2 separate regions of the Homo sapiens genome follow, and region 2 is linked to region 1. Evidence: promoter capture Hi-C in human tissues and cell types (Jung and others, 2019). All regions are on one chromosome and are shown on one strand. Each heading gives the region's core, a stretch centred on a gene start or on the middle of the fragment in contact. The rest is flanking DNA. Distances are from core to core; before and after follow the strand shown. Region 1 holds the start of PCK1 (phosphoenolpyruvate carboxykinase 1). Region 2 has its middle 61 kb from the start of LINC01742.

Region 1 (7,088 bases), core at 3,847-6,346:
GTTGGTGGCTGGGGTGAAGTGAGGAGGTTGTGGCTGTGTGTGTGAGAGCCTTAGCTTGGGAAAATGGTGTCTTTGCCGTCTCTGGTTCTCAACTCTTCAGCACAACTTGGTTGTGCTGTGTGGATTTTCAACATGTTCCAGCTGTGAAATTCCTTATACCACAAACATCCAATATGGAAGCCGGAAATGTACAACAGGTCAAATCAGAGATGCCATGGGTGAGGAGGGCTTAGAGCCCGTCTCCTACAGCCTTTCTCTCTCCTCTGTGAGGGGTGAGTGGAATCCCCCTAAATCCCTTAGAGCCCAGTTGGGAAAACACGGACCTTGACTTTACATGACCTCCAAGCACTGCTGTTGAGAGTGTGTGTTTGTTTTTTTTTTTTGAGATGGAGTCTCACTCTGTCACCCAGGCTGGAATGCAGTGGTGAGATCTCGGCTCACCACAACCTCTGCCTCCCGGGTTCCAGTGATTCTCCTGCCTCAGCCTCCTGAATAGCTGGGATTACAGGCATGCGCCACCATGCCAGGCTAATTGTTTGTATTTTTAGTAGAGATGGGGTTTCTCCGTGTTGGTCAGGCTGGTCTCAAATTCCTGACCTCAGGTGATCCGCCTGCCTCAGCCTCCCATAGTCCTGGGATTACAGACGTGAGCCTCCGCACCCGGCCCAGAATTTCTGTTCTTTTATTGGCCTCCAGGTAACCAAGAAACACCAACATGTGTTGCAATCAGACTGTCCTCTGAATCCTCCACTGTGAGACCCCGCCAAAGTCATGGCTTTGTTTTCTGTTGTTCATCTGGAATGCAGCCATTCCCCACACCCACCTCCCCGGTCACACCTGCTGCATCTTGGCTGTCCCTGCGCGTGTTTTCTGCTGTCTTTGTCACTGCTCCATCCTGCATGGCATTCTACAGGCTCGTCAAAGTCCAGTTCACCCACTCTTCCAGAACCCTTCATGGTAGGCTGCTGGGAGAAATTGGGCTACAGTCCATCACAGGTGCAAAATGACACCTGAGAGGTGGCCCTGTCACTGACCACTTCTTCCCCAACACATGCTCAGTAGACTAAGTGTGGTGGACAGGCGCACCCTGGCCTGGGGGACCCAGAGGACTTGTGTTTGGAACTCCCCTTGCTTCCTTGGGTCTGCCATGACTGTCTGGCCCCCTCCTGCAGGGGCCTTGTATGAGCAGTTCGAGGAACGTTCTCACTAACTGCAAAGCACTGTACCAATGTCTTGATTACATTTTAGATAGCAGACAGTGGCCCTGGCTCTCCCACTGGAACTGTCTATGTGGCACTTGGCCATGTACAACTTCTTTAATTGGACCATCATGTAGGTCTGATGATAAACCAAATACTCTAACATCAGGGTGGGGGTCTCCCCAACTCCATCTTAAGTCTTTGAGGAAATTGTTTCTTAGGCAAGATAGCTCCATAACTTGTGGGACCACGTGCAAAATACACAGGGCCCCTTGTTCAAAAAGGACAAAAAAAAAAAAAACCTGTGTTCCTTTCTCCCATGGTCTCTCTATCTGTTGTGGCATGTTTTGCATTTGCTGTTTGATGTTGCGCTCCCTTGGGCAGGGGATGCTCATGGGAATGAGTGCAGACCCTCATGGGCGCACAACTCTGACCTGACTTCCCTGCCCTTGTGCTCAGACCCTAGTCGGGGTGGAGGGCAGCAGTGGTCACCTAGCAGGAAGAGACAGGGGAGCGGGCAGCTGAGGCTCCATCCTTAGAAGCAGAAAGGCTGAGGGAGGCAGAACTGTACAAGAGCCACGCCGCGTGCCCCATCATCCCTTCAAATGTAGAAGTGACACAAACTTAGAAGATCACTATGAATTTCAAGACAGTGACCCCAGAGCATGAAACTCCAAGAGAAGAGCCCCCTTCCAAGAGTGAGGCATGCTCTTGAGACTATGAAGTGGACCCTAGGATCAGTATGAAGTAGGTGCTCAGCAAGTGCTTGATGACTATGTGCTGGGAGTATAGACAGGAAAAGGACTCTCAGTTTGAGGACACATCTAGAGAACTGGCAATAGTAGCTGCTCATTCACTGTTGAAGGAATGAATATGATTCCTTTCTCGACCCTCGTCTATACCCAGCTGGGTTGAGACCCTCAGTTTCCTCATCTATAAAATGGGAAAGATAACAAAGGTACCTACATCGGAGAAAATCATGGAATGCATCCCATTTCTGGCATGCAGAGAAAGCCCAGTATTATGAAGATTATTATGCCCGGTGCTAGAGACATAGCAAGCATTTAATAAACGTTTGAGCTGAGGCTTCCTAGAGAATATGAGATTGCAGCAAATTGGATGCAAAACTTCTCTTTACCTTTTTAAATCCGTCTAATTATCTCGTATCAGGATATAGCTGGTGTGGTCACAAAGCAGGGAAAAAGCAATCGATATCCCTGAGTAACTGCAAAACATGGAGTGGCCCCAGGAAGGTGCAGGGAGGAAGTCCCTTTTAGTTTGAAACTATTTTAGTGTCCGATCTTTCTTTCTCCTTCTTTCCCCAATTTTGTATCTGGGCTCAACTTTTTATACATTTTTCAAAAGAAGAGCAGCCTTGGACCTAAGAAAATCTGAGCCTAAGGAGCTCCCCAAAAGCTAGGAGGTCTCTATGGCATCCGTCCCAGAAACAACTAACGCAACTCACAGGCAGCGTGAGCCACCTCCATGCCCCACCCACTGAGCACACACTGCAAAGTCCACTCGGCGGGTTAACTGGGGGTCCTCAGGGATCCCACCAGCAGGGTGGCTGTTTGGCTGCTTCTTCGGGTCCCTGTTGAAACCAACAGACAGTAGTTAGTTTTGAGGCTTACTTACAAATAAGCTGACAGTCAGATGAGGAAGACCCATGCTTCCGGCCAGCCCCTTGAAATTGTTGTCAATGAGTCCCCACTGGGGCAGGGAGTCTCTAAGGACAGGAAAAATGGGGGCCCGAGGGCATCATCTGCCAAGACCTAAGGCAACTGTACCCATACTTTTGCCTGTGTGTCCTCAAAACCCCTCTACTTTATCATGATTCTTCTTCCAGAGAACTCTGTCCTTTGAGGCAAGTCTGTAAACCAATGTTTGCTTTTTAACATTTTGACAAGGGACAGTTGCGGGGGAATCATTACCGTCCTTCCACGCTGTAAATGCAGGTAATGAAAGGATCGGATGAAGGTCGTTGGTGACTCACTGCTCTGACGTTTTACTTGAACTAGCTGTTTCTCTCCCAGAAGACTCAGAACATAAGCACCTGGAATGGATGGGTCGCATTTAGGACTCCAAATGAGTTCTGCTTTCCCTTTTTGTTTTCAATCTATGTGCTCTTTCAGGTACTCAAACCTGTTACCGTTTTATCAGCAAAATGGGACTTTCTACCAATTTGGTGGGATGAGTCTCGCCGGGAGTGATGTGTGTGTCACGGAATTGTGGTCATGCATCGGGATGGCTAATTCACTGATGTCAGATGCTAACGAAGTGGCCTCGGCTACTGAGCATCACGTCACTGTTGGGTTTAGACACAACACGATCTTATGTATGGATGACAGCACCACTAATAACAAATGCCAGTGACCTAAACGGGGAATAACTTCAAATGAAACAAAAAGCACCTCATATCATATTTATCCTGAAAGACACAACTGGCTGAATAAAATCTGAATACAGGAAACATAGCAATGGGTTGATAATTTTGGTGGAACTTGATGATGTGTGACCCACGCCCAACACAGTGTGACCCAAGCCCCCAGGAGGGTTCTCTAAGTGAGTTTGGTCGGAGGCTGCCATTCACAGTGACTTGTATTTGCCACAGCAGCTCTTTCTAAGCCCAGTCCTGGGATTATCTCAGGGATCATCCCACACCCCAGCGGGGAGATGGGCCAAGTCCCCACCTGACCTCATCTTAGGTAGAGAGGCTTCCATGGAAGTGTGGGCTGGCTGTGGGGGGTTGAGACCTAGCCCCGTTCTTTTGACATTTCACCCTGTGTTCTCCAAACTCCAGCAAGCAGCTTCCATAGCTCATTAAATTTGACTGAAGGTCTGATGGCTTGCAAAGCAAATTCTTTACAACTGTTATAAAGGTTTCATTGCTTAAGCATATAATCTAGCAAAACTGCCAAGCCCCCTCCACTCCCTAAACTCTAAGACTTGCCAGGGAAGAGAACAGTGGCCAGTGGACTGCAGGAGTAACTGCACTCAGCCCAGAACTCCCTGGAGGACACAGGGAAGGTTCTGGAAAGGTGGCGGTACCTCACAGGGAGAGACGTGGTGCTCCAGGGCCCAACTTGCTCATGTTCAGATCCTCACTCTGCAACCCACCAGCCGGCTGTGAGTGGCTACACAATCTCTGCCTCAGTTTCCCTATCTGTACATGGGTTGTTCATAGCCTCCACCTCAGAGGGTAGTAATGATGCCAAGCTCTTAGAACAGTGCTCAGCATGTGTGCATCCTGTGCCTACTCTATGCCAAGCACTACAGAGAGAAAAATGAACAAAATAGGGAGAAATCCCTGCCCTCATGGAGTTTACATCGGGGCAGGGGGCGGGGGCGGCACAGAGCAGACAATCAATACAGTGATTAGCCCCCAGTTAGGTTAGGCATTTCCAATCTTTGCCAATAAGCCACATATTTGCCCAAGTTAGGGTGCATCCTTCCCATGAACTTTGACTGTGACCTTTGACTATGGGGTGACATCTTATAGCTGTGGTGTTTTGCCAACCAGCAGCTCTTGGTACACAAAATGTGCTGCTAGCAGGTGCCCCGGCCAACCTTGTCCTTGACCCACCTGCCTGTTAAGAAAAGGGTGTTGTGTTTTGCAACAGCAGTAAAATGGGTCAAGGTTTAGTCAGTTGGAAGTTGTGTCAAAACTCACTATGGTTGGTTGAGGGCTCGAAGTCTCCCAGCATTCATTAACAACTATCTGTTCAATGATTATCTCCCTGGGGCGTGTTGCAGTGAGTTGGCCCAAAGCATAACTGACCCTGGCCGTGATCCAGAGACCTGCCCCCTGACGTCAGTGGCGAGCCTCCCTGGGTGCAGCTGAGGGGCAGGGCTATTCTTTTCCACAGTATTTAAAGCTGGGAGGTTCTGCCACCAAGCACGGCCTTCCCACTGGGAACACAAACTTGCTGGCGGGAAGAGCCCGGAAAGAAACCTGTGGATCTCCCTTCGAGATCATCCAAAGAGAAGAAAGGTAAGTAGAGCTTTGCATTTACATTTTGAAAAATTACAAAGATGAACTCATTTTTTTCCTGAGAGCAATAACTATTTGGCAATGCACAGCCCTGGCAAAAGGCCGTCGAATGTGTTTGAAGGTGTCTGTTGTTGTTTTTGTTCAGGACGCTTGCGTTTTCTATTTCAGGTGACCTCACATTCGTGCCCCTTAGCAGCACTCTGCAGAAATGCCTCCTCAGCTGCAAAACGGCCTGAACCTCTCGGCCAAAGTTGTCCAGGGAAGCCTGGACAGCCTACCCCAGGCAGTGAGGGAGTTTCTCGAGAATAACGCTGAGCTGTGTCAGCCTGATCACATCCACATCTGTGACGGCTCTGAGGAGGAGAATGGGCGGCTTCTGGGCCAGATGGAGGAAGAGGGCATCCTCAGGCGGCTGAAGAAGTATGACAACTGGTAAGCTCGGCCCCCGCTGCCTGTCCCAGCACCCTGCAGGCAGGGCTCCCCTGCGTCTCCTGGGAGTTGGTGGAGAAAGGTGAATGAAGGCCTTCGGGTAGTTTCAGACTCTTGAGAAGATGAATGCAATGGTCAGAACCATACAGACTTGAATTTTGTGACATTAGTGGGCCAGCCCAAGCTTTAAATGAGGTGTGTGCACAAAAGCTCTGCCAACTAGATTCCTGATTAAAAAAAAGGCAGCCCCTCTCCTACAGACCAGGTCCTAGTGGAGTAAATGTCCACCTGGCCATGTCTTAGATGGTCTGTGTGTTCACACTGATGGACTGTTGTTAGCGTGCTCAGCACTCTGCTAGGCATGGAAAGCCACGGTACTGAAGGAGATGGTTCGCTGCCCGTGGTGCTTGGCTGAAAGGAAGCCTGTGATTTTTGCAGCTGGTTGGCTCTCACTGACCCCAGGGATGTGGCCAGGATCGAAAGCAAGACGGTTATCGTCACCCAAGAGCAAAGAGACACAGTGCCCATCCCCAAAACAGGCCTCAGCCAGCTCGGTCGCTGGATGTCAGAGGAGGATTTTGAGAAAGCGTTCAATGCCAGGTTCCCAGGGTGCATGAAAGGTGAGCGGAACATTGATTTGATTGGGTAAAACAGCAGAGAGCCTTTTCTTATTTACATCTATCCTAATGGTAATTCAAACAATAATGGAAGCTCCCACCACCTCAGATGTCTTTCAGTTCCATACATGAAGTTGGCAATGTATTGAAAATGCACATCCCTCTTCTGCTTTTACAGACTGTCTTATACAAACGTGAAAACTAGTTCCATGCATATGGGTTTTAAATAGCTTGGTGGGACCCAATTGCACATTTATGAAAACTCTTTAATTTCAGCAGGCTGTTCACTTTCCAGTGGCCTCTTCTAACCCAGGGGGCTGGTGACCAGCAGGGTGTGGTGGTGTTAGTGGAACACCGTGAAAATGGGTCTACCTGGGAAAAAAATGCTGGTCGTGTTCGAAGTCCAAGGTCATTTCTCACCAGTGCCCACCCATCGCACCCTGTAGGTCGCACCATGTACGTCATCCCATTCAGCATGGGGCCGCTGGGCTCGCCTCTGTCAAAGATCGGCATCGAGCTGACGGATTCACCCTACGTGGTGGCCAGCATGCGGATCATGACGCGGATGGGCACGCCCGTCCTGGAAGCAGTGGGCGATGGGGAGTTTGTCAAATGCCTCCATTCTGTGGGGTGCCCTCTGCCTTTACAAAGTAAGTGTATTATTTCAGAATCAAAAGTCAAAATAAAAAAGAAAGCTGAACGCAAACCCCAGTGAGTGCCTCGGGGACCCCCAAGCAGGGCCCTGGCGCACTGACTTGGGAGGGGTCCTTGTTCACAGAGCCTTTGGTCAACAACTGGCCCTGCAACCCGGAGCTGACGCTCATCGCCCACCTGCCTGACCGCAGAGAGATC
Region 2 (7,088 bases), core at 3,209-5,708, 380 kb after region 1:
GTGGGGAAAGAGGAGCTTCACTCCAGATTAGATCATCGAGCAATTGCTGAAATTTCAGCCTTTCGGTGCATAGACAATAACTCCTTCCTGACATCCTTATGGATGGAACGGTCTCTGTCTCGGGGCCATTTCCAAAAGCCATGAATAGAGCGGAGAAACAATTTCCCACTGTGGCTCCTGGCACGAAAAAGCTGACTTAGAGTTGCATTTGCATTCATGTCAGGTGAGGATGTAATTATTGATTGAAAGTGAGATTTTTGTCCTGAAAGGAAGATGCATGAGTGTGGGAGGGAGTCAGGTGTGTTGTTGTGCAGATCCCAAATCCTAGGCAGTTTCTGAGAGAAACCAAAGCTTGGTGTTTATGCCTTTGGCCGTGGAGCCCATTAACTGTTTTGCTCTCTGAGCTAATTCACTGGGAGTGATTGAGACGCCTGAGGTTTCTAAACCTGCCTTTCCAGATTTATCTATACACAGTCATCAAATCACATTCCATGTTCAACTAAAGCCTTGTCATTTGTTGATTTTGTGCATCAGCTATACTGAGCCACAAGAGATACCATGGCGAACAAAGGCAGGGACTCCCCTGTACTCTCCCTCCACTTTCCCTGTCCACATCTTGGCTTCAGTTACTCTCTGTCTGGATGCTCTCATCCCTACCCAAATCTCCACTGTTTTAAAGGCCCATCCAAATGACATGTCTCCACAAAGCTCACTTAGGTCCCCTATGTCAATCAGGAGTCTCTCCATTGCAAGAGACAGAAAATTAACTCACCATGATTTTTAAAAAAATAAAGAACAGGACAATTTATTGGCACACATAATTGAAGAATCCAGAGGGAGACCTTCAGGCATGGTTTGATCTAGGAGCTCGGTGGATGCTATTAGGGTATGCTCTTTCTCTCTCTCTGCTCTGATTCTCTGTGAGTAGGCCCAGCCCACTGTACAGGGGCACATGGGCACAGACATTGTGCGTCCCATATCCTTGGGCTCTAAACACTAGAAAGAACTTCTATCTCTCAGTGTCCAAGTATGGAAGTCTCAGGAAAGGACATGAATTGGGTCTGGCCTGGGGTTTGGAGTTGGAGGTTCTAATTGGTAGCACTTTGCACACACATTCGCCTGACCCCCAACCACCTTCACGAAATGGGGAAGGGTAGTTTCCTGAAGAAAGAGCCAGGATACTGGCAAACAGGAGTGAGGGGGTGGGGACAATACTGGGTACCCCTTCCCCATGCTCAATCCCTCCATTAACCAGAGCCCACCACTCTAGGAGGGGCCTCTCTTATGGGCTGCTCTGGGAGCTTGCCTTGACTCCCTGCTGGTCCAAGAGCTCCCTGAAGGCCGCAGTAGTTGTGTGTCCATCTGCACATCCCCAAAGCCCAGGGCAGGGCTGGTGCCCAGAGAGCTCTCAACAGCATTTGGTGGGCTGGGTTAGGGGAGATTTCTGCCAGTGGCAATGAGAGTGAGAACCATGCCCTCCCTTTCCTAGGATTTTGGGGCTAAAGATACAGGCAAGAGAATGAGAATGAGAGGTGGCGTTCAAGCGCGTCAGCAAAGTAGGCAGTTCTGGGTGCTGTGGTTTGGGGCTCCTAGGAGCTCCCTGACCGCTCCCTAAATATCTTCCCTTTTTCATCACAGATTTGTATCTTGGCGTCTTGTATCTTTGGGAGCCCTCAACAGAAATGCACGGATTCATGAACAGAGTTTCTGTTTCTGTCCTCTGGTGAAGAGTGTGGTAGCTGTTCCCTGCCCTGAGAAACTGTGGAAGGTCCCTCTCAGCATTGCTGTCTGCCTGAACCCACACTCCTCCTCTGCGGAAGGGGCAAGCACCCATACATGGGCTGTGCTCATGTCAAGTGTAGACCCGCTGCCATCACAGGGAATGACAGGGAAAGGCAAAGCAGCCCCTTTCTCAAATCCTGGCACAGTGAAAGCACAAAGGGTGCTATATGGATCTAGGGGAGGGGCCCAGTGAGCAGCCTGCCATCATCAGGTAGGCACCTTGTCCCTGCTAAATGAGTTGTCAAAAGAAGGACATTAACCTCTTTGAGCAGACGTGAACCAACGTCACTCTGATCAATAGGTGCCAGCATCCTGTACGGGCTCATGCCCAAAGCAAATGTGGACCAAGGGAGGGGCGCGCTGGCATATTATCAGCTGCTTACAACCAGACACGGGCATCGGATCCTTGCAGCCGTGGCGGGATACGTGGCCAGCAGGAGAGGGATCCAGGCCAGGCAGGGTGGGGGAGGGCTGGGAAGAGGCAGGACGTGCCAGGAGGACTCAGCCCTGACCCAAGGGTCTCCTAGCTAGCAAAACCCCAGTGAAATACCCTTCCCTTGTAAATCGTCATCAATAGACAGAACTGGACTCACAAGGGCTCGTGGATAGATGGATTTCTTCAACCTTTTAATGCTGCCCATCAAATCCCTGCCCAAAACATCATTTGAGCTGAGCCAGATGGATTCCTTTTTCAGGGTTAGTCAGTCTGGATCCATCTCACCTGCTGTGATTAAGCAATCACAGCAAAGCGGGAATGAATTACAGAGCACGGCTGTCTGTCGTCTGGCCTCCCTCCTGGAGAGGTGTCCTGGCGGGGGCGGCCATGTGGGGTGAGGTCAGAGTCATCGGCTCCACTGCACAGACAGTAAACACAGCCAAACACAGGCAGTCCCCAGGGAAGAAAGATTTTGTGATTCTTTACATTAACTATAAACAAGGCGGTGGTGGTTGCTGTTGTTGTTTTTAACCAAGCATATTTTTAAGGAGTGTTTAATGGGACTGCGCCTGCCATATACCTATAAACTCTGCGTGACAGCACGCTGGCTCCAGCAGAATTTGATATACACAACTCCAAACAAATAATCATATCTGACAGGCAATTTCTCCAATAAACCCAGTGAAATATTTCCCACTGCAGGGGAGGCAGTGTGCCCACGGCCTTCCGCAAAAACTGGCATGATTCGGGGGTGCTGAGGGGAGTGGGAGCTGAGGCTTGTTTACAGAGAAGGCTCCCGGACGGTAGGGACAGGGAGATACATCGTGAATTTTAAAATGCAGACAGGATCAGTCTTCTGTTAAACACCCAGGCACCTTCTGGGGGAGGGATTGGTTTAAGCATTTGCCCCATGAGCCATGGAGGTTAGGGGGCTGTGGGAAACCTCCCATTTTCTTGAAAGGCCATTGACAAAATGGGATTCCTGCATCCTGGGGAAGGGGCTTCCTTGTGTTCTAGACAGGAGTGTTGTTGTCTCTCTGCTTAAGAACCAAGTTCCGGGGGGAGGAATCTCACTGGCCTGGCCCAGGACAGCGTGGGGTCTCTCCTTAACAGCTCCATCAGACAGCGAGACCCCAAACGTGGCTTCATTCAAGCAGACCTTGCCATGGTGTCAGCACCTCGGGCCTTGGACACTGCCTCGTGCTTCCCTCTGCTCCAGTCTGGTTTTCCAGCTTCTTTACTAAGAGAGTTCTAGGAAATCCTCATTTGCGTAAGCAAGTCAAAGGTGCTCTCTGTTGCTTGCAACCCAGGAGCCATGACCAGCATACTGTATTCCACATCTGTGAAACGGGCACAGCTTCCAGTTTTATTGGCATTGGGTGCTAACCAGATCCCTGTGGTAAGTGTTACACCAGAGGGTCCCAAATTTGTTGGTCTCAGGACTCCTCAAAATTAACGAGAACCCCAAAGGGCTTTTGTCTATGTAGGTTGTATCTATCAATATTTCTGTGTTAGAAATAAAAAGGAATAATTTTTTAAACACGGGAATCACAGCACAGATTGATTTCATCAGCCAGCAAAGCAATGATGTCCTCGCATTTCATGGAGCTGCTGGAAAACTCCACCGTACTCTCACAAGAGAATGAGGACTAAAAGGCAAATCGTGGCCTTAGGAATACCCAGGGGTCCCGGGGCCACACATTTGAAGAACTGCTGTGCTAGGTAATCCTTACAATGGCCCTCGGCCCATTTTACAGCTGAGAGGACTGATGCTCGGAACTGAGAAGAGGCTGACTCTAGGGCTAGGGAGTGGATTTGAACCTGGTCTTGAGACTCTAAAGCCTGAACATCACCTCTTCCCTTTGCCCCATCAAGAGTGGTCCAGAGGAAGGACGACTCCCTCTCACAGTTCCCAGATATCACCTCTGCCCTCTGCACACTTGCCCCTTCCTCTTCCTGTTCACCAGCTGCCACGCCTCACTTCCTGTCAGCCTCCAGCTAGGCAGCCTGGGGCTCGCTTTCCAGCCTCCATCCCAGGGAAGCGGCTGCCTCCTGAGGGAGGCCAGGCCTGGACAGGTCCCCGATGTCTGTTTCCAAGCCCGACTCAGTCCGTCCTGCAGGGTGGCAGATGCTTCTCCCATCTTGGTAGTTCCTGCTATGCATGGAAGCCATCGCCTTCCAGGGGCTGGCATAGCTGTGATTAAGAGCGGGCTTTGGCCCCACATGAAGCTAGGTGCAAATTCTTGCCCCACCCCATGCTAGCGGGTGGTTCCGGATGTGTATGTTCCCTCTTGAAGCTTCCTTTTCCCTGCCTGTAAAATGGGACTAATGGTGTAAAGGCCCCTAGGTCTGACCTACCTGTCCGTCTCTGGTCCTCCCTCTCTGCACTCATTACTCTGCGTCTAATTAGTCTTCCCTCCATTTCCTCCGTGTGCCTCGTGACTTTGCACACCCTGTTCCGCTGCCTGGAAGGTCCTCCCCCACCTCTCTCCTTTCCGTCCTCAGAGCCACCTTTCAGATCTCAGCTGAATGAGGCATTCCTTGGTAACCCTGTTCAGACAGAAATTATAGAGGCCACAGTGAGAGCGCAAAATGGTGATCTTAGCGATGCCATCATATGTCACTTAACGACAGGGATGTGTTCTGCAAAATGAGTTGTTAGGTGACCTCATCATTGTGCAAACATCATACAGCCTGCTGCACAAACCCAGATGGTGTAGCCTCCTACACACCGGGCTATGTGTGTAGCCTGTGCGGCCATGGCTGTACTGAATACTGCAGGCAGTCGCAACACATGGTGAGTGTTTGTGTATCTAAACCTATCTCAACACAGACGAGGTACAGTAAAATATGGTATAAAAAATTTAAAACTGCTACACCTGTATAGGATACCTGCATGAATGGAGCTCCCAGGACTGGACGTTGGTGTGGGCGAACCAGTGAGTGAGTGTGGAGAGATGTGGTGACCTGGGACATTACCGCTCCCTGCTTCACACTTTATAAACACTGTACACTTTGGCAACGCAACATGTGTAAAAACATATTTTTCTTTCTTCAATAATAAATCAATTTAGCTTAGTGTCAATTTTTACTTTTTTAATTTTTTAACTTTTTGATGCTTTTCTAGTAACACTTAGCTTAAAACAAACACATTGTACAGATGTACAAAAATATTTTCTTTCTTTCTTTCAACAAGCTTGCAGTTGTGTTTTCTTTCTTTATATCTTTATTCTATAAACTTTTTTCTACTTTAAATATTTTTTTAAGTTTTACTTTTACTCTTTAAACTTTTTTGTTAAAAACTAAGACACAAGCACACACTTGAGCCTAGGCCTAGACAGGGACAGGATCCTCAGAATCACTGTTTTCCACCTCCACATCTTGTCCCACTGGAAGGTCTTCGGGGCAATAACACGCATGGAGCTGCCATCTTCTATGATAGCAATGCCTTCTTCCAGATTCCTCCTGAAAGACCTGCCTAAGGCTGCTTTACAGGTAACTTTATATATACATAAACTTTATATATACATATATTTATATGTGTGTATATATATATATATGGAGTACATGCTTAAATAATAAGAGGTATAATATAGTAATTACATAAACCAGTAACAGAGTAATTTATTATCAAGTATTATGTACCACACATAATTTTACGTGCTAGACTTTTATATGACTACCAGCACGGTAGGTTTGTTTGCACCAGTGTCACAACAAACACACAAGGAATGCGTCCTGCTCCGAAGTTATGATGGCTGTGATGTCACCAGGTTACAGGAATCTGGCAACTCCATTATCATGTTATGTGACCACCATTGTGTATGCGGTCCATCATTAACCAAAACGCTGTTATGAGGTGCAAGACTGTCATTACATAATCACTTGTGTGATTATTTATTTTGTACCTATAGTCCCTTTGAGACCTGCACTCTCCAATACAGGCATCACTAGCCACATGTGGCATTTTACATTTAAATTAATTACCATTAAATACAATTAAAAATTCAGCTCCTCAGTGCTCCATTAACCGCTCGGCCATTACCATTTTAGTGCCAGTGGCGGCCCCTGAGTGTCTTTGCCTGAGAGCCATCAGTGGCTGCTCAAGCCTCTTGTACCCACACATGAGGCAAGCTGAAGGTGCCCAGGAAAAGCAGTGCCCAACCAATGAATGCCAGGAGTTAGCATGTCAGTATCCCAGCTCCCTTGTCCCTCCTGCAGGGTAACTGATGTGTTTCTACCCAGACTCCTTGGACTGGGTCCACTCATCACCCTGACCAGTCAAGAGGTGTCCCAGCCATGTCTCTGGGAAGAAACAGCTGAGATTTCCCTCAAGAGAAAACTGAAGTGCTTGACACAACATGCACAGAGATACAAGCAGAGAGAGGACCATCGAGTGGGGAATGCAGCTAAGACCAGCAATAGCTGGCAAGGGCCAGAAACTGCCTCACTGAAACCTAGCAGGAGCTGGACCCAGGATTGGGTCCCCTTGTCCCTGTCCACCATAGGAGCTGTGGCCCTTGGAGGCCAGGCCGCGTGACAACCTGGGGAGAAGGACACACAACCTCCTGTCTCTCCTCTCATCCTCCATTCTGCAAGTGCTCATTTTGGACAAACCTAATCAGAAGTCAGAGGACAAGGGACACCATGGATGCAGTTTTTAAAGGCCATCTTCCCAGGGCTCAGGATAGGATGGAGACAGACAGAGAATGGGTGAGGGTTGGGCGGGGAGGCTGGAGAATACTTAGTCCAGGTGGGCACAGTGCTCTTTCTTCTAGAACTTTGACTCTTCAATTGAATGATGAAATTATTAGATGCTGGGAGAAACAGTTCCTTTATTCCTGCAAGAAGACCAGCGAGTCTGTCATTA

What was found. The method cuts DNA at HindIII sites, captures the fragments that hold promoters and counts their contacts. A contact is called where the count stands out against the background at its distance.
Region 2: a fragment that was not itself captured here is called in contact with the fragment with the promoter of PCK1 in region 1 in 4 of the 25 tissues and cell types used here (adrenal gland, bladder, heart right ventricle and 1 more).

The regions. Positions count from the first base shown.
Region 1 is chr20:57,556,014-57,563,101 of GRCh38, forward strand. PCK1 (phosphoenolpyruvate carboxykinase 1) reads left to right here and starts at 5,097. Exons shown (of 10, transcript NM_002591.4): 1 at 5,097-5,190; 2 at 5,359-5,622; 3 at 6,058-6,239; 4 at 6,683-6,886; 5 at 7,015-7,088. The coding sequence starts at 5,399. The HindIII fragment of the contact is 15,943 bases long and covers 1-7,088 here.
Region 2 is chr20:57,939,211-57,946,298 of GRCh38, forward strand. No RefSeq gene overlaps it. Among named protein-coding and RNA genes, the nearest start is that of LINC01742, 61 kb to the right of the region's middle. The HindIII fragment of the contact is 4,050 bases long and covers 2,434-6,483 here.